Regions from separate parts of the Homo sapiens genome. Here all the other regions are linked to region 7. The links are contacts of gene promoters, found by promoter capture Hi-C in blood cells and fetal thymus (Javierre and others, 2016). All regions are on one chromosome and are shown on one strand. The core of a region is centred on a gene start or on the middle of the fragment in contact, and the rest is flanking DNA. Distances in the headings are between cores, read along the strand shown.

The links. The method cuts DNA at HindIII sites, captures the fragments that hold promoters and counts their contacts. A CHiCAGO score of 5 or more calls a contact.
Region 1: a fragment that was not itself captured here is called in contact with the fragment with the promoter of LINC01530 in region 7 in 4 of 17 cell types (total CD4 T cells, non-activated CD4 T cells, total CD8 T cells and 1 more); the score reaches 11.8 in total CD4 T cells.
Region 2: a contact is called between a fragment that was not itself captured here and the fragment with the promoter of LINC01530 in region 7, in 1 of 17 cell types (fetal thymus). The highest score is 5.9, in fetal thymus.
Region 3: a contact is called between a fragment that was not itself captured here and the fragment with the promoter of LINC01530 in region 7, in 1 of 17 cell types (activated CD4 T cells). The highest score is 10.2, in activated CD4 T cells.
Region 4: a contact is called between the fragment with the promoter of ZNF283 here and the fragment with the promoter of LINC01530 in region 7, in 5 of 17 cell types (non-activated CD4 T cells, total CD4 T cells, total CD8 T cells and 2 more). The highest score is 13.4, in non-activated CD4 T cells.
Region 5: the fragment with the promoter of ZNF285 here is called in contact with the fragment with the promoter of LINC01530 in region 7 in 1 of 17 cell types (naive CD4 T cells); the score reaches 5.4 in naive CD4 T cells.
Region 6: a fragment that was not itself captured here is called in contact with the fragment with the promoter of LINC01530 in region 7 in 1 of 17 cell types (total CD4 T cells); the score reaches 11.5 in total CD4 T cells.

The regions. Positions count from the first base shown.
Region 1 is chr19:44,001,625-44,005,501 of GRCh38, forward strand. It overlaps ZNF230 (zinc finger protein 230), which reads left to right and starts at 1,333. Exons shown (of 5, transcript NM_006300.4): 1 at 1,333-1,483. It overlaps ZNF230-DT (ZNF230 divergent transcript), which reads right to left and starts at 1,246. Exons shown (of 3, transcript NR_110727.1): 1 at 641-1,246. RefSeq lists an enhancer at 1,096-1,605. The HindIII fragment of the contact is 1,145 bases long and covers 1,527-2,671 here.
Region 2 is chr19:43,748,969-43,752,537 of GRCh38, forward strand. It overlaps SMG9 (SMG9 nonsense mediated mRNA decay factor), which reads right to left. Exons shown (of 14, transcript NM_019108.4): 2 at 1,624-1,779. The coding sequence starts at 1,773. Among named protein-coding and RNA genes, the nearest start is that of SMG9, 4.2 kb to the right of the region's middle. The HindIII fragment of the contact is 8,040 bases long and covers 1-3,569 here.
Region 3 is chr19:44,488,855-44,492,997 of GRCh38, forward strand. All of the region lies in intron 2 of ZNF180 (zinc finger protein 180), which reads right to left. Among named protein-coding and RNA genes, the nearest start is that of ZNF180, 9.6 kb to the right of the region's middle. The HindIII fragment of the contact is 747 bases long and covers 2,486-3,232 here.
Region 4 is chr19:43,825,210-43,828,996 of GRCh38, forward strand. ZNF283 (zinc finger protein 283) reads left to right here and starts at 2,112. Exons shown (of 7, transcript NM_181845.2): 1 at 2,112-2,235; 2 at 2,993-3,072. RefSeq lists an enhancer at 1,970-2,169. The HindIII fragment of the contact is 6,325 bases long and covers 1-3,787 here.
Region 5 is chr19:44,399,646-44,403,547 of GRCh38, forward strand. ZNF285 (zinc finger protein 285) reads right to left here and starts at 1,963. Exons shown (of 4, transcript NM_152354.6): 1 at 1,923-1,963. RefSeq lists an enhancer at 1,360-2,116. The HindIII fragment of the contact is 3,728 bases long and covers 1,616-3,902 here.
Region 6 is chr19:44,510,201-44,513,958 of GRCh38, forward strand. It overlaps CEACAM20 (CEA cell adhesion molecule 20), which reads right to left. Exons shown (of 12, transcript NM_001102597.3): 7 at 2,972-3,089; 8 at 2,668-2,753; 9 at 1,817-1,878; 10 at 1,437-1,472; 11 at 830-955. Among named protein-coding and RNA genes, the nearest start is that of ZNF180, 12 kb to the left of the region's middle. The HindIII fragment of the contact is 3,813 bases long and covers 1-3,157 here.
Region 7 is chr19:51,592,451-51,596,206 of GRCh38, forward strand. It overlaps LINC01530 (long intergenic non-protein coding RNA 1530), which reads right to left and starts at 1,930. Exons shown (of 2, transcript NR_034159.1): 1 at 1,499-1,930; 2 at 1-601. ZNF175 (zinc finger protein 175) reads left to right here. Exons shown (of 5, transcript NM_007147.4): 5 at 1-60. RefSeq lists enhancers at 374-1,009, 1,010-1,645, 1,646-2,281, 2,028-2,337, 2,548-2,597 and a silencer at 2,680-2,847. The HindIII fragment of the contact is 8,842 bases long and covers 1-3,064 here.

The DNA of each region.
Region 1 (3,877 bases), core at 849-3,348, 7.6 Mb before region 7:
TACCTTCAAAAGAGCAGGTTTTTAGATGAATTGTTTCCTAATTTAGCTTTATACTGTTATTATTTTTTAACCAATGCCAGTTTTTAAATTGCTAACTATAATAAAGAAATTATGTTTCACCAAGAAATAAGAAGAAACTTAAAAAAAAAAATCTTTAATTATTGAGGTATCTGTTGCCTAGGCTGGAGGGCAGTGGTGGCATCATAGCTCACTGCAGCCTCAATCAAACTCCTGGGCTTCAGCAATCCTCCCACCTCAGCCTCCTGAGTACTTGGAACTTGTAGTCCCAAGATCAGGCCACCATGCCTGGCCAGTTAAAAAAAAATTTTTATAGAGACGAAGTCTCCCTGTATTTCCCTGTCTGGTCTCCAATTCCTGAGCTCAAGGGAACGTCCTGCCCTGGCCTCCCAAAGGGTTGGCATTACAGGTTTGAGCCACTGCGCTTGGCCAGGAAGAAAACTCTTTATAAGACATGCTCCTTCACCTATAGAATCCTCCCGTTTTACTGCATTTACAATCTCAATGTAAGATTGATACCAATGCCTAGCTCTTCATCAGTCATTATTGCTCTGAGGTACTGAGCAATTCACTACATTCGCTGAAATTTGATGTTTCTACATCTAAGGAGAAATATGAATACCATGAAAAGTTTATGGGAAGATAGCTATTCCATGACGACACCGCTTCTCCACTAGTAGCTGTGATCTTAAATGGGGGTGGCTTTTCCTGCCAAACCAGTGGTCCCACAGCTTCTGGAGTAGGGGCTGGTGTCTTCCTGCTCCTCATTGCCCCTGCCAAACCATTCCACCTGGCTCATCCTTTAAACCGTTAGTTTTAACCTCCCATCGTCAGATTATCCTAATCCTTGAAGATTTTATCTCCTCGTTTGTTCTCTTCCCAATAACACTCCTGTCATCGTGGGAGGCGTTTAGACTTCAGGAATTCCTGTCTATACACTATTTTCGCTCAAAGACTCAGGAAGAGAGACGGACGACTCACAGGGTCACAGTCCACATTCCCCACCAGGCGCTCAGAGATATGGAATACGTTCCCGGTGGGCACTGCGGTGTGTGTAGTCAAGGACCACCGCGGAGTCCAACGCTTCCCGCTGAAGAGTGAGATTATAGACATTTTCCTTTGGCATTGGAGGAAGCGGAGTCCAGACACACTCTGAGTCGCGGGCAAGTTGGCTCAGGCGGGTGGACGAGTGAATTCTGGGAACTGTAGTCCATCAACTTCATGGAATGGCGGACCCTTTGGCTCAAGCAGTTGAACCGGGGAATTCTGGGAAGTGGAGTCCAGACGCTCTGTGGAGACGCGAGCACTTCCGGTGTGTGAGCCTGCGGTTGCTACATAACCGCGTAGTTTGAGCCATTTCTGCGTCTGGCGGGTCCTTCTGAACTTGTCACCTTCGCTTGGGGTCGCAACGACCCGATGATCGATGATCCAAGCAAGGGAAAAGAAGCCTTGGCGGAGAGCGGAGGTTTGGTGGGGGCGGGGAATGGGGTTTTTTTCCCGTCCACGGAAGCTTTCTGGGATGGGGGTGCTGTGCTCGCATCCCGGGGGTTGGAATTGGCGGGGTCCTCTGTGCCCTGCTGTGAGCGTTTCCAGGACTTTGACCTCGCTCAGCCTGCCTCTCTCCACCCTACCTGTGCGACCGCTTTCTCGCAGTGTGACGTGGAGTGTTACTCAATGTCCTTATACTTTCCATTGCTGTTTTTGGTAATGGGGACATTAGAACCATCCTAGTAGAATCGTTTTTGGGAACTGAAAGAGATAACGCAAATGAGAACCTTAAAGCAGTCCCTGTCACTTGGTGACTGGTGGTCTCTTGTTAACTTCCCGAAGAGGTCAGGTCCCCGGGTGGAGTCATAGCTTCAGCTGCAGGGGCCCTGGTCCTTCTCCCTAATCCCTGCAGGACGCTGGATGATCCCGGGAGGCCTTCTGACCTCTTTTTAGGAAAGCGAGTTGCGTCCGCTTCCACGAAGGGCGGGGAGCATTTAACTTTTATGGGGGACCGCGATGCAGTCAGGGTATTTCACAACTTTCGCCTTCCCCAGCCTGACCTTTCTAAAAGAGCTGCAGGGAGGGGACTTCTTGGCTACTGAGGGCAAATCTCTATGTGATTGGTCCTTGGCTTTTTTCCTTTATAGAGATGTTCACCCAACCGAGAGTGTGTCCTCGGGAATGGGTGTTGATAATCATTAAGCCGTAATTGGTAACTTCATTCTAAGTGCTTTATACAAATAAATTTAGGCCACACTGTGGCTCTGTGAAGTATTGCTTTTCTTTGTTTTAAAAATGAGAGTGAGACACAGGGTGCATAGCAGCCAACTAGTGAGAGGTAGAGCTGGGGTTGGCACCTAGGCAGTCCAGGTCAGAGCCTGAGTTGATCACCTCTTGGATACATTCTCATTGAGGCAGAGGAACTAGCTGGACTCGTAGGGAAAGCAAGTTAGGACCTGATTGAAAGGACGTTGAGAGCAAGGCTCGTGGGCTTGGACGTCTAGGAATTTTTAAAAATTTCTCAACTATTTTGTTTCATGTTTTCCAAGTATTTCGTACTGTTGTGGAACTGTATCATTGTGGAAAAGTCTGAAATAGGAGAAATGAGAGTAGAAAAAGTTTTTTAATTACCCATGTATCCAAGATGTAAAGGTAGTAACTGTTAAGCTTCTAATTGATTTCTTTTGTCTTTCTTTGTGTCTACTTCTATATTTGTTGATAAACATTTTTTTAAAAATTGTTATATTTTAATGTGTTTTCCCATATGTCTTTTAACTATAGAAAATTTTAAATATTGCTAATAGAGACTAAACTAGTGAGGCTGGTTGTGGTGGCTCATGCCTATAATCCCAGCACTTTGGGAGGCCAAGGCAGGTGGATCACTTGAGGTCAGTAGTTTGAGACCAGCCTGGCCAACATGGTGAAACCCCATCTCTACCAAAAATACAAATATTAGCCGGGCGTGATGGCACGTGCCTGTAGTCCCAGCTACTCTAGAGGCTGAGGCAGGAGAATTGCTTAAACCCGGGAGGTGGAGGTTGCAGTGAGCCAAGATCACGCCACTGCACTCCAGCCTGGGCAACAGAGTGAGACTCAAAAAAAAAAAAAAAAAAAAGAATAAACTAGTGAACTGCCATATTATATAATGCTCAATTTTATTATTCCCATTATCCTTATGACTATTTCCTGATATCTAAAATATTTTTGCTGGGCGCGGTGGCTCACGCCTGTAATCCCAGCACTTTGGGAGGCCGAGGCGGGTGGATCACGAGGTCAGGAGATCGAGACCATCCTGGCCAACATGGTGAAACCCCATCTCTACTAAAAAAAAAAATACAAAAAATTAGCTGGGCATGGTGGCAGGCAGTTGTGGTCCCAGCTACTCCAGAGGCTGAGGCAGGAGAAAGGCGTGAGCCCGGGAGGCGGAGCTTGCAGTGAGCGAGATCGCGCCACTGCACTCCAGCCTGGGCTAGGGAGCGAGACTCTGTCTCAAAAAAAAAAAAATTAAAAACTAAAAACAAAATAAAATATTTTCATCTTTATATCATTTAAAAGCTATAGAAAAGTTGCAAAAATAGTATAAGGAGTTCTCATACTCTATCCAAATTTGCCAATTGTTTACATTTTTCCTGGTTGCTTTGTTGATGACCATCAGCCAAATACCACCAGGAACATAACTAACCAGAGACAGCTGATTATGGCTTTCTGCAGCAAGGAAGCCCACATACCATGGTAAATGTGGGGTGTGTTGGTAAGAGGTATTTAAGAAGGGATGGTATAGGGTTTCACATAACATGCTAGATAATATTAGATATTAAATAATATTGTTATCTATTACATATCAGATCTGTTAAAAGACTACTAGTAGTTG
Region 2 (3,569 bases), core at 100-2,599, 7.8 Mb before region 7:
ATCTCAGATGCCTGGGACCAGAAGTGTTCTGAATTTGGGATTTTTTTGAACTTTGGAATATTTGCATATTTACTGGTTGAGCACCCCAAATCCATTTGCAAGGCTCCAATAAACATTTCCCTTAAATGTCACGTTGGTGCTCAAAACATTTGGAATTTTGGAGCACTTCGGATATTCAGTCTATACCTGGGATGAACGCTGTGAGGGTAGAGAGAAGACACACAGATATAACCAGGCGGCAGAATGTAAAGCACTGGTGCCTGACTAGCACAGAGGAAGCAGGGGAGAGGCGAGAGAGGCATTCAGGATAAGGCCCAATGGGCTGTCACTGATATGGGAGAAAAAAATGGGAAGAGGAAAAATGGCAGAAAGATGCCGAGGTCAGCACGGGACACAGAGGATAAGAAGCCCATGGGTGTGACAAGAGGCTGCCAGGGCTCAGTAGCACATTTAGAGACAAAGATGAGGTTTAGGAGGTGCTTGTTCAAGGATTAAACCTGAAGGTGTGGCGGGATAACATTCCCCAGGAGGGCATTATGTGGAAGGAAGAGAGACTACGTGTTCTCATTTACACTGTGGCCCAAGAGAAGGAGCAAGTAAGAGCCCAGCTCACTGTGAAAAAACTATTCTTCATGTTTGTACAGTTTTATAGCTCAGAAGCTGGCCCCAGTTGTCACCTACTTCCACCCTACCTGACATCTCTGAGGTGGACAGGGCCCTAGAGAAAAAAGCCCAGGGGGCAGGTTCTGGCAGTGAGTCACCTAGGTACAGGAGGGGAGCGAGGCTGGGCCTGGGCACAAGCCGATCCCTCCTGATTCCCAGCCCAGGGCGCTCTCTACAGCAGGCAGAGCGATGCTATATGTGAGACTAAGCTGGACCTGGATCTGAGTCCTGGACCCAAAGTTTATTGACTCTGATTTTGGAAAAGTCCCTTCACCTCTGGGGCTCATTTTCCTCATTAGTGAAAATCAGATCTATCATAGAATCTACCTCATGGGGTAGCTGTAAGGGTTCAGGAAGACCCAAAGGATGTAAAAGACTTTGCACAGTGCAAGCACAGTATAGGCTGCTCAGTAAAAAGAGTAACAGTTGTTGTTATTATGACATGACCCTTTAAAACATGAGCTATGGCACCTCTCAGCTCAAACTCTCCAATGCCAATTTCACTCAGTGAAATACAAAGTTCTTTCCAAGGCCTACCAGGTCCTACATGATTTGGCCCCAGTTACTTGACTTCATCTCCTATCTCTCTCCCTCCTTCCTCATCAATTGCAGCCATCCTGGCCTCCTATGGCTACTCCTTGAACACGCCAGATATGGGCCACCTCAGGGCCTCTGCGCTTGCTGTTCTTTCTGTCTGGAATGCTCTTCATCTCAGATGCTGGCATGGCTTATTCTCTCATCTCCTTCAAGTCTCTGCTAAAAAGTCACCTCTTCAGAGAGACCTTCTCTGACCATGTTATCTAGAACAGTCTCCTTTATCACTCTCCACCTTCTTTATCCATGAGGGTGGTAGGTTTTGTTTACAAATATATCCCCGGCATCTGGATTAGTGCCTGGCACATGGCAGGTGCGTGGAACCAAATAGATACATGAATGCTGCTCCTGGGTCCAGACACTCACCCTTCTCTCTCTTTCCCATGGTGCAATGTAGTCCCTCTCCCGACCACCAGGCCCAGAGAGATTCTGGGGGCCACCAGAGCCAGGCTCCTTCCACCGTCGCCGCCGCTCTATCCCATAGAGTCCAGGCTGACTGTGTCCAGACTCAGACATGGTTACCTATGGAGGGAATGAGGGGATTTCAGGATGACAGAGTCTCTTCCTACTCTACTTGGCATATCCTAGACTATACGAAGTCCCTTCTTTCTTTTTTTTGGAGATGGAGTCTCTCTGTCGCCCAGGCTGGAGTACAGTGGCCTGATCTTGGCTCACTGCAACCTCTGCCTCCTGAGTTCAAGCAATTCTTCTGCCTCAGCCTCCCAAGTAGCTGGGATTACAGGCACCCACCACCATGCCTGGCTAATTTTTATATTTTTAGTAGAGATGGGGTTTCACCATGTTGGCCAGGCTGGTCTCGAACTCCTGACCTCAGGTGATGCACCTACCTTGGCCTCCCAAAGTGCTGGGATTACAGATGTGAGCCACTGTGCCCAACCAAGGCTCTTCCTTTCTTCTTTTTTTTGAGACAGAGTTTCGCTCTTGTCACCGAGGCTGGAGTGCAATGGCGTAATCTCGGCTCACTGCAGCCTCCACCTCACAGATTCAAGCAATTCTCCTGCCTCAGTCTCCTGAGAAGCTGGGATTACAGATGCCCACCACCACACCCGACTAATTTTTTTTGTATTTTTAGTAGAGATGGGGTTTCACCATGTTGGCCAGGCTGGTCTCAAACTCCTGACCTCAGGCAATCCACCTGCCTCAGCCTCCCAAAGGGCTGGGATTATAGGCGTGAGCCACCATGCCCGGCCAAGGCCCTTCCTTTCAACAGAGCTCTGGGCCTGTGGTAGCAACTGCAAGCTGGTTCCCAACATCCACTCCTGACTTCTTCCAAAAAAGTAAAACCCTCAGTTCTGAGCTAGGTACATGGCTATCCAGAACAAACTTCTCATCCTTGTTTGCAGTTAGGTGTGGCCATGTGAGTAAGTACTTTCTGGCTATGGTATGACACTAGAAGTGTGGCTTGGCAGCTTCCAGAAACTTCCCTTCACAGACTCTGGCACATGCCTTCTGCCCCTTCCTCCCAGTGACAGGAATGTGGGTGTGGAGGTTGGAGCTCAAGCAGCTATCCTGGGCTGTAAGGCAATTTAATGGAAGGTACAATAAAACAAGACACAAGGTTGGGGGGTTCCACGTTAACCTTGAATTGCCTACTTCGAGAGGCAGTGAAAAACAAATACACATCTATCTCTTACTTGCAGCCAAAACTATTCCCAACTATTAAAATGCTCCAACATAAATAAACTCACAGGGGCAAGTTCACATAAAAATAGGATATTCTCCTTACCAAAATGCAGCAAGGCATTTGCTTACAAACCAGCAATGTGATCCTCAGTCCAACAGCTACTCTTGATTAGTCATTACTAGTGTATGTCATGGTGGGGCTCCAGCCACTTACTAGTGTATGTCATGGTGAGGTTCCAACACTCAAGGGCCTATTTTCACCTGGTATCCCACTACATTTCAGTGTCTGTCTGTCTTCCGTTCCTGACGGTCTGCCTTCCCTCACAGTGAATTTCATTTCAAGGTGTCTCCAGTGTTTATTCTATTTGAGATGTTATATAATGTCTGGCTACCTATGCAACCCACTCTCCACCATTTCAGTATCTGTTTACAGGTCCTTAGAGAGTTTTCCCAGCTGTTCACACATCAGTCTAGGGTGGTATTTGACTACTTAACTGTTTGTAGAACTCAGTGGGGCTATCTGCTCAAGCTCAGAAGTCAGGTTGACAAAGTGTGGCCTAGGGGCCAAATCTGGTCTGCTTTCTGTTTTTGTAAATAGAAAGTTTTATCGGAACATGGCCACATCCATCAATTTAGAAACTGTCTGTGGCTGCCTTCTTGATGCAATG
Region 3 (4,143 bases), core at 1,609-4,108, 7.1 Mb before region 7:
TGAGGAGCATCTCTGCCCGGTCGCCCCATCTGAGAAGTGAGGAGACCCTCTGCCTGGCAACCGCCCCGTCTGAGAAGTGAGGAGCCCCTCCGCCCGGCAGCCGCCCCGTCTGAGAAGTGAGGAGCCCCTCCGCCCGGCAGCCACCCTGTCTGGGAAGTGAGTAGCGTCTCCGCCCGGCAGCCACCCCGTCCGGGAGGGAGGTGGGGGTCAGCCCCCGCCCGGCCAGCCGCCCCGTCCGGGAGGGAGGTGGGGGGGCCAGCCTCCCGCCCGGCCAGCCGCCCCGTCCGGGAGGGAGGTGGGGGGGCCAGCCCCCCGCCGGGCCAGCCGCCCCGTCTGGGAGGTGAGGGGCGCCTCTGCCCGGCCACCACCCCGTCTGGGAGGTGTACCCAACAGCTCATTGAGAACGGGCCATGATGACAATGGCGGTTTTGTGGAATAGAAAAGGGGGAAAGGTGGGGAAAAGATTGAGAAATCGGATGGTTGCTGTGTCTGTGTAGAAAGAAGTAGACATGGGAGACTTTTCATTTTGTTCTGTACTAAGAAAAATTCTTCTGCCTTGGGATCCTGTTGATCTATGATCTTACCCCCAACCCTGTGCTCTCTGAAACATGTGCTGTGTCCACTCAGGGTTAAATGGATTAAGGGCGGTGCAAGATGTGCTTTGTTAAACAGATGCTTGAAGGCAGCATGCTCGTTAAGAGTCGTCACCACTCCCTAATCTCAAGTACCCAGGGACACAAACGCTGTGGAAGGCCGCAGGGTCCTCTGCCTAGGAAAACCAGAGACCTTTGTTCACTTGTTTATCTGCTGACCTTCCCTCCACTATTGTCCTATGACCCTGCCAAATCCCCCTCTGCGAGAAACACCCAAGAATGATCAATAAAAAAAAAAGAAAAAAAGAAAAAAAAAAGAAAAATTTAGAAATGGGAAAAAATAAATAAATAAATAAATAAACTTGACCGAAAGAAAAGAAAGAAAAGAAGAGAAGAGATGAGAAGAGAAGAACAAGAAAGAAAGAGAGAGAAAGAGAGAGAGAGAGAAAGAAAGAGAGAAAAGAAAAAGAAAGAAAGAGAGAGAGAAAGACAGGAAAGAAAGAGGGAAAAGAAAGAAAGAAAAGAAAGAAAGAAAGAAAGAAAAAGCAAGAAAGAAAGAAAAGAAAAGAAAGAAAAAGACAGGAAAGAAAGAGGGAAGGGAAGGGAAAGAGGGAAAGGAAGGGAAAGAAAGAGGGAAGGGAAGGGAAAGAGCGAAAGGAAGGGAAAGAAAGAGGGAAGGGAAGGGAAGGGAAAGAAAGGGAAAAAGGAAATAGGAGAAGGGAGGGAGGGAGGGAGGGAGGGAGGGAGGATGGAAGGAAAAAGAGAAAACAAAGAGAAAAGACAATACAAAAAAAACTACTGTTCTTAAGCAGTCCTCTTGCCTCAGCCTCCCAAAGTGGGATTACAGGCGTGAGTCACCACAACTGGCCTAAACTGCCTTGAAATTGCTGCATGAACATTACAAAATAGCCCAAAATGCCAGAAAACAAAAATAAAACTCACAATGCCAAAAAATAGCCACAACCAAACTACAGATGGTACAAGGGAGCCACAAGTTTTGACCCCAAACTGTTAATGGATTCAATCTTATCTGGCCTGAAAGAAAAATTACATTCCTGATATACACCCGTGACAAATACATCTTTTCTTAAAAAAATGCCTGGGAAATGAGAAAAGTTACTCAAGAAAGGAAAATTTGTAAATGCTAACCTGTATTTTAAGTTATTACAAACTCCTTCAGATAATATCACACTCTGTTAATTAAAAAAAAAAAGCTAATATCAGTTAAGAAATAATACCAAGAATTGGACAACTTAATGTTTTTCTCAGCAGGTACTTGGCAGAAACAAAATTCCAAAATGTCACTATCTGCCATAACTGCTAAAACTATTATACTTGCAGAATATGGTTGCACCTCCTCTTGAATGCAAACTGTTTTTAGCACCTTTTTGTTTAAAAGTTTTCACAAGAAAACAAAAGAAAGCTCATCTTTCCTCAAGGTAGACTCTGGATGAAATGTCCTTCCTTGCCCTGACCCCAGCAGTCAACTCTATCACTTTACCCTGCTTTCATATCTTCACATCACATATATTCTTCTACCTTTGGCTTTTTATTTAACTCTTCCACTAGAGTGAGTTTCATAAGAGCTGAGATCTTGTCTGTCCTGTTTACCGTGACTCCACCATGCTTAGATCACTACTGACACATAGCAGGCTCTTCATAAATGTATGCTGACTATAAACAGCCACTAGGAGAAGGGACATGGAATGTGCTACCTGTAACTTTGCATTTGTCCCTGGGGTCCCTGGAGGCACTAAAGCAAAGCTGAGCTCAAGCCCCTCCCTTGGTTAGAGGAAACCTTTGTTGGGTGCCTTTTCTTTGCAGAAAATTCAAAGTGTCAGTATCCAGAACCTGCTCCCAACTTACTCTTACAAACTAAATGCTCAGAAACAAGCTTGCAACAAATGCATGTGAGCCCGTGCATGCATGCACACCCACACACCCTGAATTTTTCCCCAGGTTCTACTCACTTTGGATTACTGACCATTTTAGGAATATCTCCTGAATTTACATCTTAGCTCCCTCAGTTTCCTTCAGATAATGTCAATGTAATCTATCATTTGCCTAGTATTTTTAGTAATACATAGAGTACTTCAACACAGAATTTCCATCTCACAAAATCATCTAAACTTTTTTTTTAAGAGCTAGGGTCTCATTTTGTTGCCTAAGCTGGAGTGCAGTGGCACCATCATAGCCTACTATAGTCTTGAACTCCTGGGCTCAAGCTATCCTACTGTCTCAGCCTCCCAAGAAGCTGGGACTACAGAGGCACGCCACCACAGCTGGCTAATTTTTTTGTTTTTATTTTTTGTAGAGGTGGGAGTTTCACTATGTTGCTCAGGCTGGTCTTGAACTCCTGGCCTCAAGTGATCCTCCCATGCTGGTCCCCCAAAGTGCTGGGATTACAGGTGTGAGCCACTTTACCTGGCCTAAACTTTTTTTTGAAGAAAAGAGTAATATGTCTATTCTATTTCACCAATGCAGAAATTAATGGTAATAAGGTTTAGTAAGCTCATTTAAGTCCACTGATTGCCTGACACAAACTCTTCTGCTTCCCACTGTCTTACCAAAGTCTGTCTAATCACCCAAGGCCCAGATCAAATGCCACCTCCTCCATGAAGCGTTCCCAGATAGCAGAAAGCTTCATCTCTTCTTCTCTCAGGACTTCTTAGCTTTGGTGGCCCTTTACTATACCAGTAAAATTATTCTCTTCATATTACTACCATTTCTATATACCTCTCCCCTGGGTCCTGGGTTCTATATTAGAAAGCACTGTGTATTTTTTATCTTTGTATTCTCCTCAGTATTGAGTAGGAGCACAATAAAAGTTCTCTGCATTTGACAAGACTAGAGACACGTGCAGAGTTTGGGACATAGGAATAGAATTAAAAACTTTTACTCTACTTTCTGTATGCTCTGGAGCATCTTTAAATTACCCTCTTGTTCAACAGTCACCTCTCTAGGTCATAAAGGAGCATTTCCCTTTTTCTTTGCAGACTTTACGAAATGGGAACAGGAATTAGACTGTTGACTTGCACAGAGAAAAGGGTTGTGGGCAGGAGATAATAATTGTTCCTTCTGTAATGTATGTGGGACCCCATGGGAACCAAAGCAGGGGGAAAGAGACAAGCAGAGCTATCATGGAGTGACCTGTCCGCTTCATAGTAAGACAGTGGTCAAATCAGACCTAGGGCTAGGGCTATTTGCTCACCTATAAATAGAGATGACCAAATATTCCTTTCCCAATCTGAGGTATTCTTGGGGCAATAAAATGAAGTTTCTAATCAAATCACAGAAATATTACTGGACTCAATTCTCAGAGCTTTGCTTTGGGGGTCTACTGGCAGGAAACCCTCTATATCTGTGAGAACATTTAGAAAACACAGGCGTCACACAGGCAGACTTCTTGGTGTGTTTCCATCTCTTCCTGCCCTGGGAGCTGGAAGGTGGAGCTCACATTTCAGCTCAAGGGATATGGCGTCCACAGGGCCCATGTGGGAGGCCCTGAGGTTTCTTAATCACCAAATCTAGAAGGCGTAAAACCAATATT
Region 4 (3,787 bases), core at 862-3,361, 7.8 Mb before region 7:
AATGCTTAACAACCCAAATGTCCATGAATCAATGAGTGGATAAAGAAACTGTGGTAGATATATACAGTTGAATACTACTCAGCCATAAAAAGGAATGAATTAATGCATTTGCCTGGATTTATTTATTTTTCCTTTTTTTTTTAAGATGGAGTTTCCCTCTTGTTGCCCAGGCTGTAGTGCAATGGCGCTATCTTGGCTTACTGCAACCTCCACCTCCCAGGTTCAGGCAATTCTCCTGCCTCAGCCTCCTGAATGGCTAGGATTATAGACACCCACCAGCGTGCCCGGCTAATTTTCGTATTTTTAGTAGAGACAGGGTTTCATCATGTTGGCCAGGCTGGTCTTGAATTCTTGACTTCAGGTGATCCAGCTGCCTCAGCCTCCCAAAGTGCTGGGATTACAGGTGTGAACCACCATGCCCGGCCTGGAGACTATTATTCTAAGTGAAGCAACTCAGGAATGGAAAATCAAACATCGTATATTCTCACTCATAAGTGGGAGCTAAGGTGTGAGGATGCAAAGGCCTAAGAATGACACAGTGGACTTTGGGGACTTGGGGGAAAGGGTGGAAAGGGGGTGAGGGATAAAAGACTAAAAATTGGGTGCCATGTACACTGTTCAGGTGATGGGTGCACCAAAATCTCACAAATCACCACTGAAGAAGTTACTCATGTAACCAAACACCACCTGTTTCCCAAAAACCTATGGAAATAAAAAATTAAAAAAAAATCAGACCCCCAAAATATTCAGAGTAGTACTTGTGGGAGTCATTGAGCAAGTAACATGGGAAGAGAGGAGGCTGCTTCCACCAGTGGTTTTGGAGGTGGAGCAGATGCTGATGATAATGAAGTCCCAGATGGGAAACGGGGATGGGTGCCGAGGAAAGCTCAAGGACCCTGCAGATGAGGACTCAGACCCACGATACTGGATGAGGCATCCATGTCACCATGGGAGTCAACCAGGGTAGTGGCCTCAGCTGAGGCAGGGGAAAAGCTGGGATCCAAGAGCTCTAGTCTTCTCTTGATAAGCAAGAGAGACCAGGAGGTGAGAGATGGCAGAGGATGAGAGAGGTGATATCAGTGACCAGAAAGAGCCCCTAAAAAGTAACTTCCTTTTCTTTCTGTTAGTTTTAATATAAAATTTCGCTTTAATATTTTTAGACAATTCTTTTTTAAAAAAGTATTTATATCCAAAGGTTCTTACCACACCAACCACAGCCCCAATCTTTTTGCCCTAACCTCAGAATCAGTTAGTTGTCTCCTTTAAAACCTTTCTCTCTCTCACACACCCACACACACACACACGCAAACACACAGGAGAGAGAGAGAGGGAATATATAGTATTGTTTTTGGAGTATGAGTGTGTGCTTCAGAATAAATGGTTTCATACTCTATAAAAAATGAGATTCAAATTTTATAATCCATCAAGTTTTATTGGAACACAGCCATGCTGGATTGCTTGTGCATTGTTTATGGCCGCCTTTGCACTGCCATAAGTCTCCACGGTCACAATATCCACTCACTACCACTTATTGTTGTCTTTCAACAGCGGCATATAAAATCTGTAACACAGTTCATCTCACACCTAATAAAACAGACTCACACAGGCATAAATTTAGAAAACATCCCATGAACATAAACAGGTCCACGCAGGGTCCCAGACACCGAATCGAACTAAGAAACTCCCTCACAGCAAGACACACCCATCTGTTCAATTGCCAGACACTGTTCCAGGCGCTCATACCCAGGTAAACTGGTAGTGTCGCGCAGGTCATTTCCAGCGAACTTACCCCGGATTCCCTTGCTCGCTCACGTCTAAGTCCCCAGACACCCCAGTCCCATCTTCGCCTGTTCTAGACTCCAGAATGCGTTCCTTAGCGAAAGCTGAGAACCTTTTAATTCGCTCTCAGTCAACACCAAAGACCCTCAAGCAAAAGCAAGAGCTCCCGGGCGTCTTCGAAAAAAGCGCCTTTGACAGGTGAAGCCAAGTTGCATGCTGGGAGCATCCCTGCTGTCCAGGTTTCAACTTCCGGAGACTCTGCCGCTGTGGACTACATTTCCCAGAAGTCTCCGGGGCACAGGCCTTTTAGGGGCGGGGCGAGCTTGCCTGCCAGAAGCTCCTCTCCCAGCCTGCGAGCATTTCCAGGCTCTTGTTTCCCATCAGCCTCTGGGTCCAAACTAACCACAGGTCTCTGGGTCCTTTTCCGGTGTCCTTAAGGTTCTTGGACTCTGCATGGTGAGTTGGTCGTGTCTGTAGAAGTAATCAGCCCGGGTGAAGCTGGGAGGGCTCGGCTGGCTTTACTGGGGCCCGACTGGAACCGGCAGTGAGGGTGGGGGTGGCATCGGGGGTGCTGGAGGTGGGGAGGGCTGGGTCACGGACAGAGCGTGTCGTGTCCGGATCCTCAAGCCTGTGTGCACGCGAGCAGCCGAGGGACAGTGTGTCTCAGACGGCGTGGCAGGGACGGGGCGTGTCCCCACGGAGGTGGGTGCAGTTGTGAATGTGTGACGGGCTGACAGGGTGCGTGGCCGTATTTGTAAATGTGATTTGCTTTGACCAAATGCTCTAGGTTCCCTTTAGCCTGTCTTCGGGCCTGCCACAATTAAATGACCGCAAGAAAGAAGTCTATGCTAAGCCCCATAATGAACGTTTCAAGCAAGAAGGATGAGAATTTTAGATCTGGAAGTGTCCGCGGGACAGGATCTTGTCAAGACCTGATGGGGAAGTTCTAGAGGTGGGATTCCTAGAAGAGGGGCCTCTAGGAGCTCTTTGGTGGTGAGCTACATGTTTCAGAGCCATTGCAAGCAGACCTCTGTCCCCAAGAATTGCCCTCAACACAGAGACAGACTCTAGCCTCCCTTTTCATTCCGTTTGGTTTTGTGTGGATGAAGGCAGAAGTGGCCCCAGAGGGTGTTTTGCTCTTCTTTTTCTTTTTTAATTAAGTCTGTGACGCGCTAGAAATGCTGATGTCTCATGTTACTGTTTTTTCCCCCAGTGCTGCCAGGTTGCCAGATTTCTAAGAAGGAGTTTGAAGAGGAGAAAAGGATTTTTGCATGTTTAGAAATCAAGGTTCAGGTGAGGTTTTTTATACATACTTTTTAAATACATACACATACAATTACCTTTGCTTCTAGGTCATGAGAACATTTTCTTTCCTTGGCCTGAAATATCTTGACTGGGTTTTCCCAGTTACATGACCCGCCATGCTGGTACATATTTCCTCCCAGTGGCCCCCTATTGTTCTTCTCCACAATTCTTACCCACCTGTTCATATGGCAAATTGTTCAAATACTTCAGTGCATTATGATGCACTGAAGAGTTATAGAAAGGCACCTCTTGTAGATTGCTATTAGAGCATTATTTTATACTATGATTATTTGAAGAGATTAGTAATTAGGTGGTGTTATATAAACATTATTTTTTATCTTTTCTGTAGTCATAATTAAAATTTTTTTTTAACTTTTTTTAGAGACAAGGTCTCACTCTGTTGCCCAGGCTGAGTGCAGTAGTATAGTCATAGCTCAGTGCAACCTTGAAGTCCTGGGCTCAGGTGTTCCTCTGGCCTTGGCGTCCCAAAGTGCTGGGACTGCAGGTGTGAGCCACCATGCCTGGCCCATAGTCATGATGCTTAAAGAAAGGCAAGGTATAAGGGATTTTAAGTAAGGGAATGTTTCTGGCAGTAAATGACAATGTTGTCTGCTTTGTGAGGCTTTTAGGGGTGGAAATATGATTGAGCTTTGAACATAGGGATTTGTAATTTGCACCAACAAGAGTGGGGACTTTCAGATAA
Region 5 (3,902 bases), core at 713-3,212, 7.2 Mb before region 7:
ATATGGTTGGGGGTTTGGTTTCCTGAATTTCTGGCTTCAGACACTACCTGCCTGTATCAAGTCAGGGCCGTGGCACGAACCAGACGGCACATTGAAATTTGAGGAGAGTTTAATAAACAGACGGCTTACAATGGTGTTGGCTCGGGGTAAGGAAATCACAATGGATAAGGCTCTATCCTGGGGAGTGACAGGGAGGTGCCATTATAATACCTGGGCCTTAAGAGGTAAGGGGAGGGAGCAGTCCCTGGAGCCTGGAACTAAGAGGACTGTGTGGCCAGGGCCACCCAAACTATGACCTGTTGTTTAGAAGGGCAGCTAATCTGTGACAATCCTGCAGAGAGAGAACTGGGGGACAAGATACTCCAACTCACACTTCTTCCTCTCTCCAAACTTTCCTGTTGAGACTTCCCATTGGCCAAAGACAAGCAAGGCCAGAAGGCAATGGCGGCCTTTCAGGGCAGACAGCAGGGTGGAAAAGGTGGGGAGCCAAAGGCATGGGACACATGGCACCTCAAGACTCTTGTTTTTTCCCTATCTGCCAAAGTCCACACAGCTCTCGCACACAAATGCCTTTCTCATCCCTCACCCTGACAACTACTCTGATCTGAGGAATGCATCAGGAATGAGACCAGATGCCCATATCAACTTCTTCAGGGAATGAAGACCTAGAGGAAAAGTGCAGCTGAATCTGGAACTGCAATTGCCCAGAAACACGATCAGAAATGTAATAAATGCTGCTATTACACCTAAAATAATTAACACTAAATCTCTAACTTTATCAAATATACAGAGAGTGTTCAAACTTCAAATTTGTTGAGTGTAATTTAACAACTTATATTTGCTAATGTGCTTTATAATACTCAAAGTCCCTACTCCCTGGCTCACAGCATGTGAGGTGAGAATGGAGTTAATAATTTGGGGCAGTTCTTTTCTTTTCTTTTTTCTTTGAGACAGAGTCTGGCTCTGTCGCCCAGGCTGGAGTGCAGTGGCGTGATCTCAGCTCACTGCAAGCTCCGCCTCCCGGGTTCACGCCATTCTCCTGCCTCAGCCTCCCGAGTAGCTGGGACTACAGGCGCCTGCCACCGTGCCCGGCTAATTTTTTGTAATTGTTTTTTGTAGTAGAGACGGGGTTTCACCGTGTTAGCCAGGATGGTCTCGATCTCCTGACCTCGTGATCCGCCCACTTTGGCCTCCCAAAGTGCTGGGATTACAGGCGTGAGGCACCGCGCCAGGCCTGGGACAGTTCTTTTCAAAATGTATTCGGTGACATTAAACTCTGGAGTTATTACAGTATTACAGTCTGAGTTGTTTCTTTATTGCCAAAAGCCAGAACCTCTGCCTTGAAGTCATAAATGCCCCAATGGAGTCAGAGCTGCCAAAATCCAGAGTTCAGACCCAAGACAACTCCCCATCCAAGAACCTAGGGGTGCTGAGCCAGAATCGCCCCCACCAAACTGAGCGAGAACAGCCGAAGCCATCCTCTATATCCAGAGACTAGCTGCTTAAGCAAATCCCTCATCCCATTCAGGGACGCACAGTCCAGCCATTACTCCAAAACCCTGAGCCAGCGCCCCTCTGCCCTCATCCAGAGATGCACATCCCAAGACTGACCCTAAGCTTCGACCCGAGGAGGCACAGCGCAAGTCGCTGTCACGAAACGTGAAGATGCACTGTTTTGTCAAACCCAGGGCTGCTCCCCAAACCGAGCCCACGCTCGAGCCCACGCTCTTCCCATCCTATCCCGGGTAGGTCGGGCCGCTGAACTTCCCTAGTCTACCCCACCTACGAGGCCTTATCATTGGTTACCAGTCCCCTCTTCCACTCCTCCTACTTCAGTCCACAGGGACGGGTCACAGCTGCACATCCTACACTCCTACTCCTGGCTACGCCTCCAAGAGGGGCGCGGTACAGACGGGACTCACCCCAGCGTCCCAAACAATGTCGCCCGCAGCGTGCGTCCAGTACCATGGCGCATGCGCAAGGAGGCCTATGGCCTACAATCCCCAGAAAGCCCCGCGCGCAGCAGTGGCCATTCGCAAGGCTACCCTGGTGAAGGTGGCCTTTGACTTCCGTGCATTTGGAAGTCCTTTGACTTCCGTGCATTCGTCTAAAATAACGACAATCATAATAACGATAAAATAATGAAATGTTAAATAAATCACTATCAACGATGAAAAGAAGTTTCAATATTTTACTACTTGGAAATGGGCACTTTACCGTTTTAGTGAAGACTTTTATAAGTTCTTATTTTATAGGCATGTCTTTTAACGTTAAAACCACGAAACTTTTCAATTAACACTCACTTAAATAATTCCCTCCCCGCCCCCCACCATGTTTTATTTCTGTTGATGAAAACTCTGGATAATCTACACTTGCGATATAACATAGCCCTGTAATTTATTTCCTAGTCTCAGAAGAAGCAGAAGGAATTAACAACTATTGTCTGAATCCTTAACAGGGGAATTGCAGGAGTACTGAGAGTGTCCTAAAAGAGACACATTACAACATAACAAGAAAACGCGGGAAGTTTTCAGATTCTTTTTGAAAATTTGCCCTTGTTGAGACTTAGGCTTTATTTTACTTCATGTTATTGCATTTAAGATTTAAGATTTCTATTAAAGAAAAATTTGGGTACCCTAAATGGGGTAAGAAAATTGAATAGGAATTCCATTAGAGGCCCACAGTTTTAGCCTGGAGGAAAGCCCTGATAACGTGTGAGAACAATCTGTCTCCTAGGAAAGGTCACCTGGTCCTGCTGGCAGAGTCTCTGTTTGGAATATCTGGCTGGCATTCCCTTTTCCACGCACCCTCAAGCTGTAGGGGTGGTGAGGCGGTTCCAGTCCTAGACTAGATAGAGAAGTGAAGACCCCCACCTCTACGCAATGGGCAGGAAATGGTTGAATAATATCCAACTATAGCTTGACATCGCAGCTTAGGGCACATAAAGGGACAGTGCAATTGTTTTGGCTTATCTCTGTCTTTTGATGTTTACATGTTTGATGTTCTTATATATTGCTCTAAGTTGAAGGATTACTTGATTTAATTTGACATACTTGAATTTTAAAAAACGAGTTCAGGAACATTTTTATTTTTGACCTAATACAAGGTTAATTTTTGTGACATCTGTGTCTGTTGGAAAACAATGTGTCTTCTCTATCAGATGGATATGCATACATTTATATTTTCCCCAGACTTGCTAACTGTGCTATTTAAATTTCCTACATGCTTATTTGTGCTTACTTAGATTTTTTCATTATGCATCTGTCAACGATTGAAAAGTGCATGTCAAAAAGGTTCCCAGTCTGGGCGTGGTGGCTCAAGCCTGTAATCTCAGTACTTTGGGAGGCCGAGGTGGGCAGATCACGCGGTGAGGAGTTCAAGACCAGCCTGGCCAAGGTGGTGAAACCCCATCGCTACTAAAAATACAAAACTTAGCCAGGCATGGTGGCAAGCACGTGTAGTCCCAGCTACTTGGGAGGCTGAGGCAAGAGAATCACTTGAACCCAGGAGGTGGAGGTTGCAATGAGCCGAGATCATGCCACTGCACTCCAGCCTGGGCGACAGAGCAAGACTCTGTCACCAAAAAAAAAGAAAAAAGAAAAAAGTGAAAGAAAAAAAAGCCTATAATGGTAAATTTGTCATTTTCCTCTCTATAGCATTTGCTTTATTTATTTATTTATTTATTTATTTATTTATTTCCTTTATTTTTTTTTTGAGACTGAGTCTCGCTCTGTTGCCCAGGCTGGAGTGCAGTGGCGCCATCTCAACTCACTGCAAGCTCTGCCTCCCAGGTTCACACCATTCTCCTGCTTCAGCCTCCCGAGTAGCTGGGACTACAGGTGCCCGCCACCAGGCCCAGCTAATTTTTTTGTATTTTTAGTAGAGACAGGGTTTCACCGTGT
Region 6 (3,758 bases), core at 1-2,500, 7.1 Mb before region 7:
AGTGGAATGGAATGAAAAGGCATGGAATGAGCCAGGCAGGGTGGCTCATTCCTGTAATCTCAGCACTTTGGGAGGCCAAGGCGGGCAGATCAATTGAGGTCAGGAATTCAAGACCAGCCTGGCCAACATGGTGAAATCCCGTCTCTACCAAAAAATACAAAAATTAGCTGGGTGTGATGGCTCGTGCCTGCAGTCCTAGCTACTCGGGAAGCTGAAGTGGGAGAATCCCTTGAACCTGGGAGGCAGAGGTTGCAGTCATCAGAGATTGAGTCACTGCACTCCAGTCTGGGTGATGGAGCAAGACCCTGTCTCAAAAAAAAAAAGAAAGATGAAAGGAAGGAAGGAAGGAAAGAAAGAAAGAAAGAAAGAAAGAAAGAAAGAAAGAAAGAAAGAAAGAAAGAAAGAAAGAAAAAGGAAGGAAGGAAGAAAGAAAGAGAAGAAAGAAAATAAAAGGCATGGAATACAGTAGAGTGAATGGGAAGAGCTGGGATGGGGGGAAATAGAGTGGAAGGAAATAAAACCCAATGGGATGGAAAGAAAATGGCAGAGTGAAGTGATATAGAAATACAGAAAATGAATAAAGCTAAATGGATAGAAAGGAATTGGGTGGAGTGAAACATGGAATGCAATAAAATGGAGTGCGTTGGAAAGGAATGAAGTAAAACCAACTAGAAAATGACATGATGGAAATGGATAGGATGGAATTGAGAAGATTTTTAAAGGGAAATTTTTCTTCATAGTTCATCCTACAGACTCTTTAGTAGGGAAGAAAAAGCAGATTGGTGACAGATTTCCACCTGTCCAAAGACTCAGTGTGGCATAAACATACCTCATAGATTGACTCCATGTTTTTTGGCACAGTGGAGACCAATCTGAGTGGGGGCATCAGAGGTTTGGGTGGTGGCTTCCAGGGGCTGAAAGAATTGCCTCTACGGCTTGCTGAAGGCAGCTTCGTCTGCAAGTAAGCAGAGAAATTAGGCAGGGCCCACAGACACAGATTGCCAGGAATGTACCAACTTACACTCTTCAGGGACCGAGAGAGTGGAAGGAATCTGTTCAGGTTCTTGCAGAGAATCAGAGGTGGAAGCAGGGTTAGAACCCAGGCCCTTGCCCTGGCCCAGAACTCTCCTTTTTCCTGCTGGATCTGCAACCTCTACTCCCAGCCTCCTTTTCACCCCAGCATGTGCTGGTCCAGTACCACCTCATTGGCAATCCAATTCCAAGCCCTGGAGGTGGAAGGAACGAAAGAGGATCCAGGGTCATGGCATCTGACCCAGCTCTCTGTGAGGCCTTAGGCTACTCTCTTCCCATCCCTGGCCCTGTGATGTGCCATGAAATGTTTAGACAAGATGATCTCTCAGGCTTATCACATATAAAATTTTCAGATTGTCTTTCCTTCATAGATTCTTTAACCAAACCCAGCAGGGCCAATGTACCTCATAGGTCTCCTCTGGAAGGTCTGGTGGTTGCATCTGGGGAAAAACAAAGTTGCAGAGAGGTCATAGGGCTTGGAATAGGGGCTACCCCAAGAGATGCTCAGAAATAGCTTTGGCCTCAGAGGCAATTATAGCACTTCTGATTCCCAGAGGGCTCAAAGCTAGGAATTGTCATGTCAAAGAATAAGAAGACGAGGAGAAGAGATGAAAAAACCCGGGAGGGTCTTGAGATCCTCAGAGAAGTCAGAGGAGGAGATGCAGAGAGACTTAACCTGGCACTGGGTTTTCTCAAAAGATCATGCCAGCCCCCACCCTAAGAAGTAAGACTATAGCAGCCTGGTCAGGGGATCAAGGAGGGTTCCCTCTGCAGCATCACTCACCAGTTCGACTCTGATCCGTCCCTGAAGCTGGGATATATTGCGATACTCAGGACTCAGGCTTTCTAGAAAAAGTGAATCTCAGTCAGGAGCTGGAGTTCGAAAGAGATATGGGGCAAGGGGCTGTTTTTCCAGGACCCCTGACCCCAGGAAGGAAGTGCAGAAATCCTTCCCAGGACTCCCTGTCATATTTCCAGTGAGCTTGACCAGGAATGTCCTGGCAATCAAGGTCTGGGTTAGGTAAGGCTGTTTGGTGACACAGATGAGGGGAGAAATCTAAATTCTAGCCCAGTTTTGACACTGGGTCCTCTGTAGCCTGGATTTAGCCCTTTATCCCTAATGGCCTTGGTTTTCGTCTCTATAAAATGGGGCTGGATTGGACAGTTTCTAGAAAGCCTTCCATATCAAAAGGCCTATCCTTCCAGAATCCCAGACCCAGAGATGGCAAATACGTTTCATTTTGTCTTTGGTTAACTCTAACCCATCAGTAGAGGGCACTCGAGGCACTCTACTGAGATATGTTATGAGGCTGGATTTGGATTCAGCAGGAAGGAGTGTTGTGGTTGATTCATTCTGTCTACAACAATCAGTTAAAAAAGTCTTCTGAGATTGAGAAAGGAGAGAATTCCAGCCTGTTGTCCTGCTTTTGCCGGGACTGTTGGAACAGGCAGAACCCATCAGAGGGCTTGACTCCAATCTCATCCAAATTCCAGATGGGAACACAGAGGCTCAGAGTGGACAGGGCTTGCCCTGATCATACAGTGACCTGGTGGCAAAGCTGGGAGCCCCCAGCACCAGCCTCTTCCCCAGCCCTCACCCCTGCCCCAGGCATCAGCCACCATAGAGTCACTTACCGGAACTGGGCTCTGTGGGGTGCTCCTCCTTCGGGATGGGTTGTGAGGTCTCATGACTGGGGTCCTCTGTTGTTTTCCTTGAGGGCCTGAAACCCCAAAGCCCTCATTATTCTGTGCCTCTAGTCCTTGCCCATCTCCACAGGTTCTGCCCATATCCCATGTCCATTCTTGAACAATGCCCACAACCCTCTGAATTCCCCAGGTGCCAGACAAGACTCAGCACCATGGTCAGCAACACGCCCGGCAAGCGCCCCCTGCTGGCCACATCCCCATCCCCATCCCCCTCCCTGTATCCCTGTGTTACCGTCTGGCATTTCTGATGCAGAGAAAATAGCCCAGTTCTGAGGCCACAGCAATGACAGCCAGGATCCCGATGACAATACCAGCGATGGCCCCTGAGGACAGGGAGGAGGACTGGGGACCTGGGCAAGGAGACAGAATCAAGACCCAGGCTTGACACACCCTCATCCCTGCTCCCAGCCCGTTCCCAAGCTTGCAGCTTTTTCTCTACTGACATTTTGTGAGCACTTGTTTTCCAGTCGTTGGGAGGTATCAGATTGTGGTTTTTGGTTTTGCTTTTTTTTTTTTTTTTTTCAGACAGGGTCTTGCTCTGTCACCCAGACTGGAGTGGAGTGGCGTGACCTCAGCTCACTGCAACCTCCAGGTTCAAGTGATCCTCCCACCTCAGCCTCCCCTAGTAGCTGGGACTACAAGTACCTGCCACCATGCAGGCTGATTTTTTGTATTCTTTGGTAGAGAGGGGGTGTTTCACCATGTTGGCCAGGCTGGTCTGGACCTCCTGACCTCAAGTGATCCGCCCACCTCAGCCTCCCAAAGTGCTGGGATTATAGGTGTAAGCCACTGCACCTGACCTCAGTCTGTGGTATTAACAGCATCATTTCTAAACTAAAACATCCAGTTTCTGCGTCCAAATTTCAGCAGTGTGACTTTGGGCATGCTACTTAACCTCTCTAGGCTTCAGTTGTCTCTTTTGTAAAATGGGAACAATAGGGTTTATAGGGCTTCTAGAAAGATTAAACATACATGTATTCATTTTCTATATATATAGTGTTTGTTTGGAACCATGGAAA
Region 7 (3,756 bases), core at 680-3,179:
ATGATTCAACAAACATGGAATTTCATTAAATCTGAAATAAAGGTATTTTGAGAAATTGAATTCCGTTATCAAGTGTGAAGTCCTGATCCAGACTCACCTCGTGCACACTATTTACCACAAAGGTGGACTCCCTATTTTAAATGCATTCACTTAAAGAGACCTTTCCCTGTACTAATTAGTGTTTGTTAAGAAGGACCTTCTGGACATAGTTGAAAGAAAGAGAAAAGAAGCAGGTGTGGGGAGGAGGAGAAGGAGAAGGGAGGAAGGGAGGGAGGGGAAAGAAGATGGATGGACAGATGGAAGGAAGGAATTAGGGATGGCAGAAAGGAGATAAAATAAACTCTACTTTTAAAAGAAACCAGGTGGGGTGAGTGGGAGGGCTTCCCTGTGACCTTGGCCTCAGGGGCTCTTTCTGGCTTCCAGATAAGATACCCCTCAGCTTTGCACTGGGTCTCCTGAGGCTTGGAAGTTATGTCCACAGTGAGGTTGGTGTAGAGGGGCAGCCACTCTTTGGAGAGCAACCTGTAGCCCAGACAGTTGATGCCATCATCAGAGGATCCAGGGATCGGAGGATTGGCGGATCCGGGACAGAAGGCGAGGCCTGGAGGATGGGGAGGGGCAGCCATGTGAGCCTCAGGGAGGACCCAGAACCAACCACCCCACTTCCAACACTGATTCACCTCCAGGGCCTCTGCTTGTGGCCAGGATCTTCCCCCTCCAGCATATGGTAGCCTCTGAAAAGCAGGTGGGGCTGGGAGAGGAGCATCCCGCTTAGTTTCACCCTTCCAGAGACACAGGAAGGCATGGAGGCCAAACACCTGTCTCTGACAGGGTCCCCATGCCACAGCCCAGCCCTCCAGTCCAGGGTAGCCCATGTCCCCCTCAGCCCAGGGCGGCCCATACCTGCCTCATCATGTCAGGACCTGCAGCTCCTGCCTCCCACCTGGCAGTGATGTCATCCTCATCATCCCAACCCCACTACACGTTGGAGAAGCCATTTATCTTCAGGTAGTGAGTGGGGTGCAGGGCAAACACCCCTCCAAGGCACAAGCTAACGGCTTAATTGCTGTTGTTTCCCCATGTTCTGGCTTGCAGCACTTGTAACCTCTGGGCTCCTGCAGCCCTTAACATCTGATACCTTTACATTAAGATTTATCATCCTTATCTCTGGACCAGGCTGAATACACCTGTGTCCCGGTGCATCTGGCCAGCGGGTCAAAGGGCCTAGCACACAGATTAACAAATGAATGAGTTCCAGTTACCAAAGTTCAATCCTTGAGGTGGACAGAAGACGCCCAAGGCGTGTCTCCCATCACCCTTCACTCTCAATCCTCCTTATCAAGGGCCTCACGGGAATAGTGATAAGATCTCAGAATATACAGGAGGGAGCAGTTTCGGGAAGGGGGGCATTGGAAGGAAGTGGAGGGCTTGGATCTGGGGAGCAAGCGGGGAGAGTGCTCCGTTCCTTGGTTTTGGGATCTTGCCTTACGGGTCTCACCTGCCCTCCATCCTGGCTTCCACCTGGCAGGGTGTGTTTGTGTCAGAAAGACGATTGTGCGTAACTGTTCACCGCGTCCACGTCCCGAGAGTTGCGCACGCGTGGAGATCTGCAAAACGCTCCCTTTCAGCTCCGCGCATGCACAGAGACCCCACCCCGCAAGTCCTTGCCCTTCGGCCTGGGCAGGCGTCCACTCCCATGGCTGCAGGGCGCGCCGAAGAGCCCACTCTGCATCCCCGAGACGCGGCCCAATCCTAGGAATGTGCTTAGCGCAGGTGCTATCTTCCCTTTTCACATTCCCAATCTCTTTCTCCGCCCCCTCAAACTCTTGCCATACTCCCACAACAGCAGAAAATCTGAAAAAAAAGTCCATCCCATCTTTGCACTGACAGCAGTGCACAGCAGCTGGCAGAGAATTCTGGCACGGCTATTGTGCTTGCGCAGGCGCAGACGGGAAGCGGGCCGGACCGGCCTAGTACACTCTGGGAGGCGTGCGCAGAATGCGCAGCGCTGCCGCGAGGATCTCTGGGAACTGTAGGCCCAGTTTGTCCGAGAGCCGCAAGTGTTTCGGGACGACGCAACGCAGGGGCACCTGGGAGTCGTAGGCGGATGGGCCCAAAGCCTTCCGGGAGTCGTAGTCCTTCCGCCCGCTCCTCGTTTCTTTGGAGGTTGGCCCTTCCAGCTCCAGTTCTGCCCAGGTGAGCGCCCATCCCGCGGCCGGCCGGTCCTGGCCCTTTGTCGCGATGACGTGGCGGAGTTGAGGGTCTCTGTATTTCTCTCCCCCGCGTTCTGGTAGGCGTCCCTGGAAAGATGGCACCCTTTTCCGTGATCTCTCAATCCCTCTCTCCGGGTGGGAGTGCTCTAAGCAGCTGTTGTACCTGCTGACCCGCTTTGGATTCTGCGGCCCAGCCTGACACCTTCTCACTCTCGCCCTTCAACCTGGGTGCAGTGCGAGTGCACCCTCCTCTGTCCTGGTTACAACACAGAGTGGTCAGGGCTGGCCCAGGGGGTGCTCAGGAGGCTGTGGGAACACAGAGGAGGTGCTAGACCCAGCCCAGGGTTCAGGAAAGACCTTACAGAGCAAAGGACCTCAAATCTACCACATCCAAACGAAATCCCAGATTCCCTGTCCTAAACCTGCTCCTCTCACAATCTTTCTGCCTCCTCCCCACTAACTGTCCATCCAAGTGCTCAAGCCAAAATCTTGGAATGGTCGCCAGTGTTCTGTTTCTCTCATCCGCTTCCCTCCCGCAACCAAATCTTGTGTGAGTCTCATCGTCTCTATCTCCAGAAGAGGCCCAGAATCTAACCACTTCTCTCCACTTCCACTGTCTCCATTCTGCTCCGAGCTACCGTTACTCCTCACCTGCATCACTGCAGGGGCCTCCTCACTGTTCTGTTTCTTCCCTTGCCACACTCCACCCTCTATTCAGGCACAGTGCCAGGAAGCCTGTGGAAATATAAATCAGATCCTGTCACCAGTCACTACCCTGCCCCCCAGCTTAAAATCATCCAGTGGTTCCCATCTCAGAATAAAATCCAAGCTCCTTATCCTGCCAACCTCTAAGCTTCTGGTCCTTTCTGGTCGTCCTCAGTCACAACACACTTTCCAATGGGCTGAACACAGCCAGGCCCTGCCCTTCATGTCCTTTGCATTTGCTATTAACTCAATTTGGAGCATTCTTCCCACCCTGACCCAATATCTGTCTACTCATTTTGTTGGCCTCAGCTCAAAGGCCTCCAGCCACCCTAAAGAACCCCCTCCCTGTTCCCCCCCCCCCAGTCATACCACCAAAGATAATTCCCTCGTATTTGGAAAGCATCTTAGTCATTTACTTCCTTATCCATGGCCTGGTTCCTCCATTAGAACATCAGTGCCCTGACAGCTGCAACCTTTCCTATCTTGCTCACTGCTGTGTCCCAGTACCTAGAGCATGCTGGGTACATAGGCGGCACTCAGTGGGTATTTGTTAAATGAATGAATGAAAGTTTGAGCTGAGACTTGAAGGTAAGAGTTAGGTCTACCACAGTGTTTAGGGAAGTGTCTTGCGCAATGAGATCAGCCTGGCCAAAGATGCAAGGGGTTGAAAAACCAATGGGAAGTTCATCTGGCTGAGGTGAGTAGGTAACTAAAACAGGGATGCAACTGGATCTGATAAGGACCTCAGGAAGTGAACCCCAGTACTAGGTGACTGCAGATTCAGAGGTTGAAAAAGCTGAGTTGTCTTCCATAGAGAAGCTGGGTGAAAGGTGGTGTT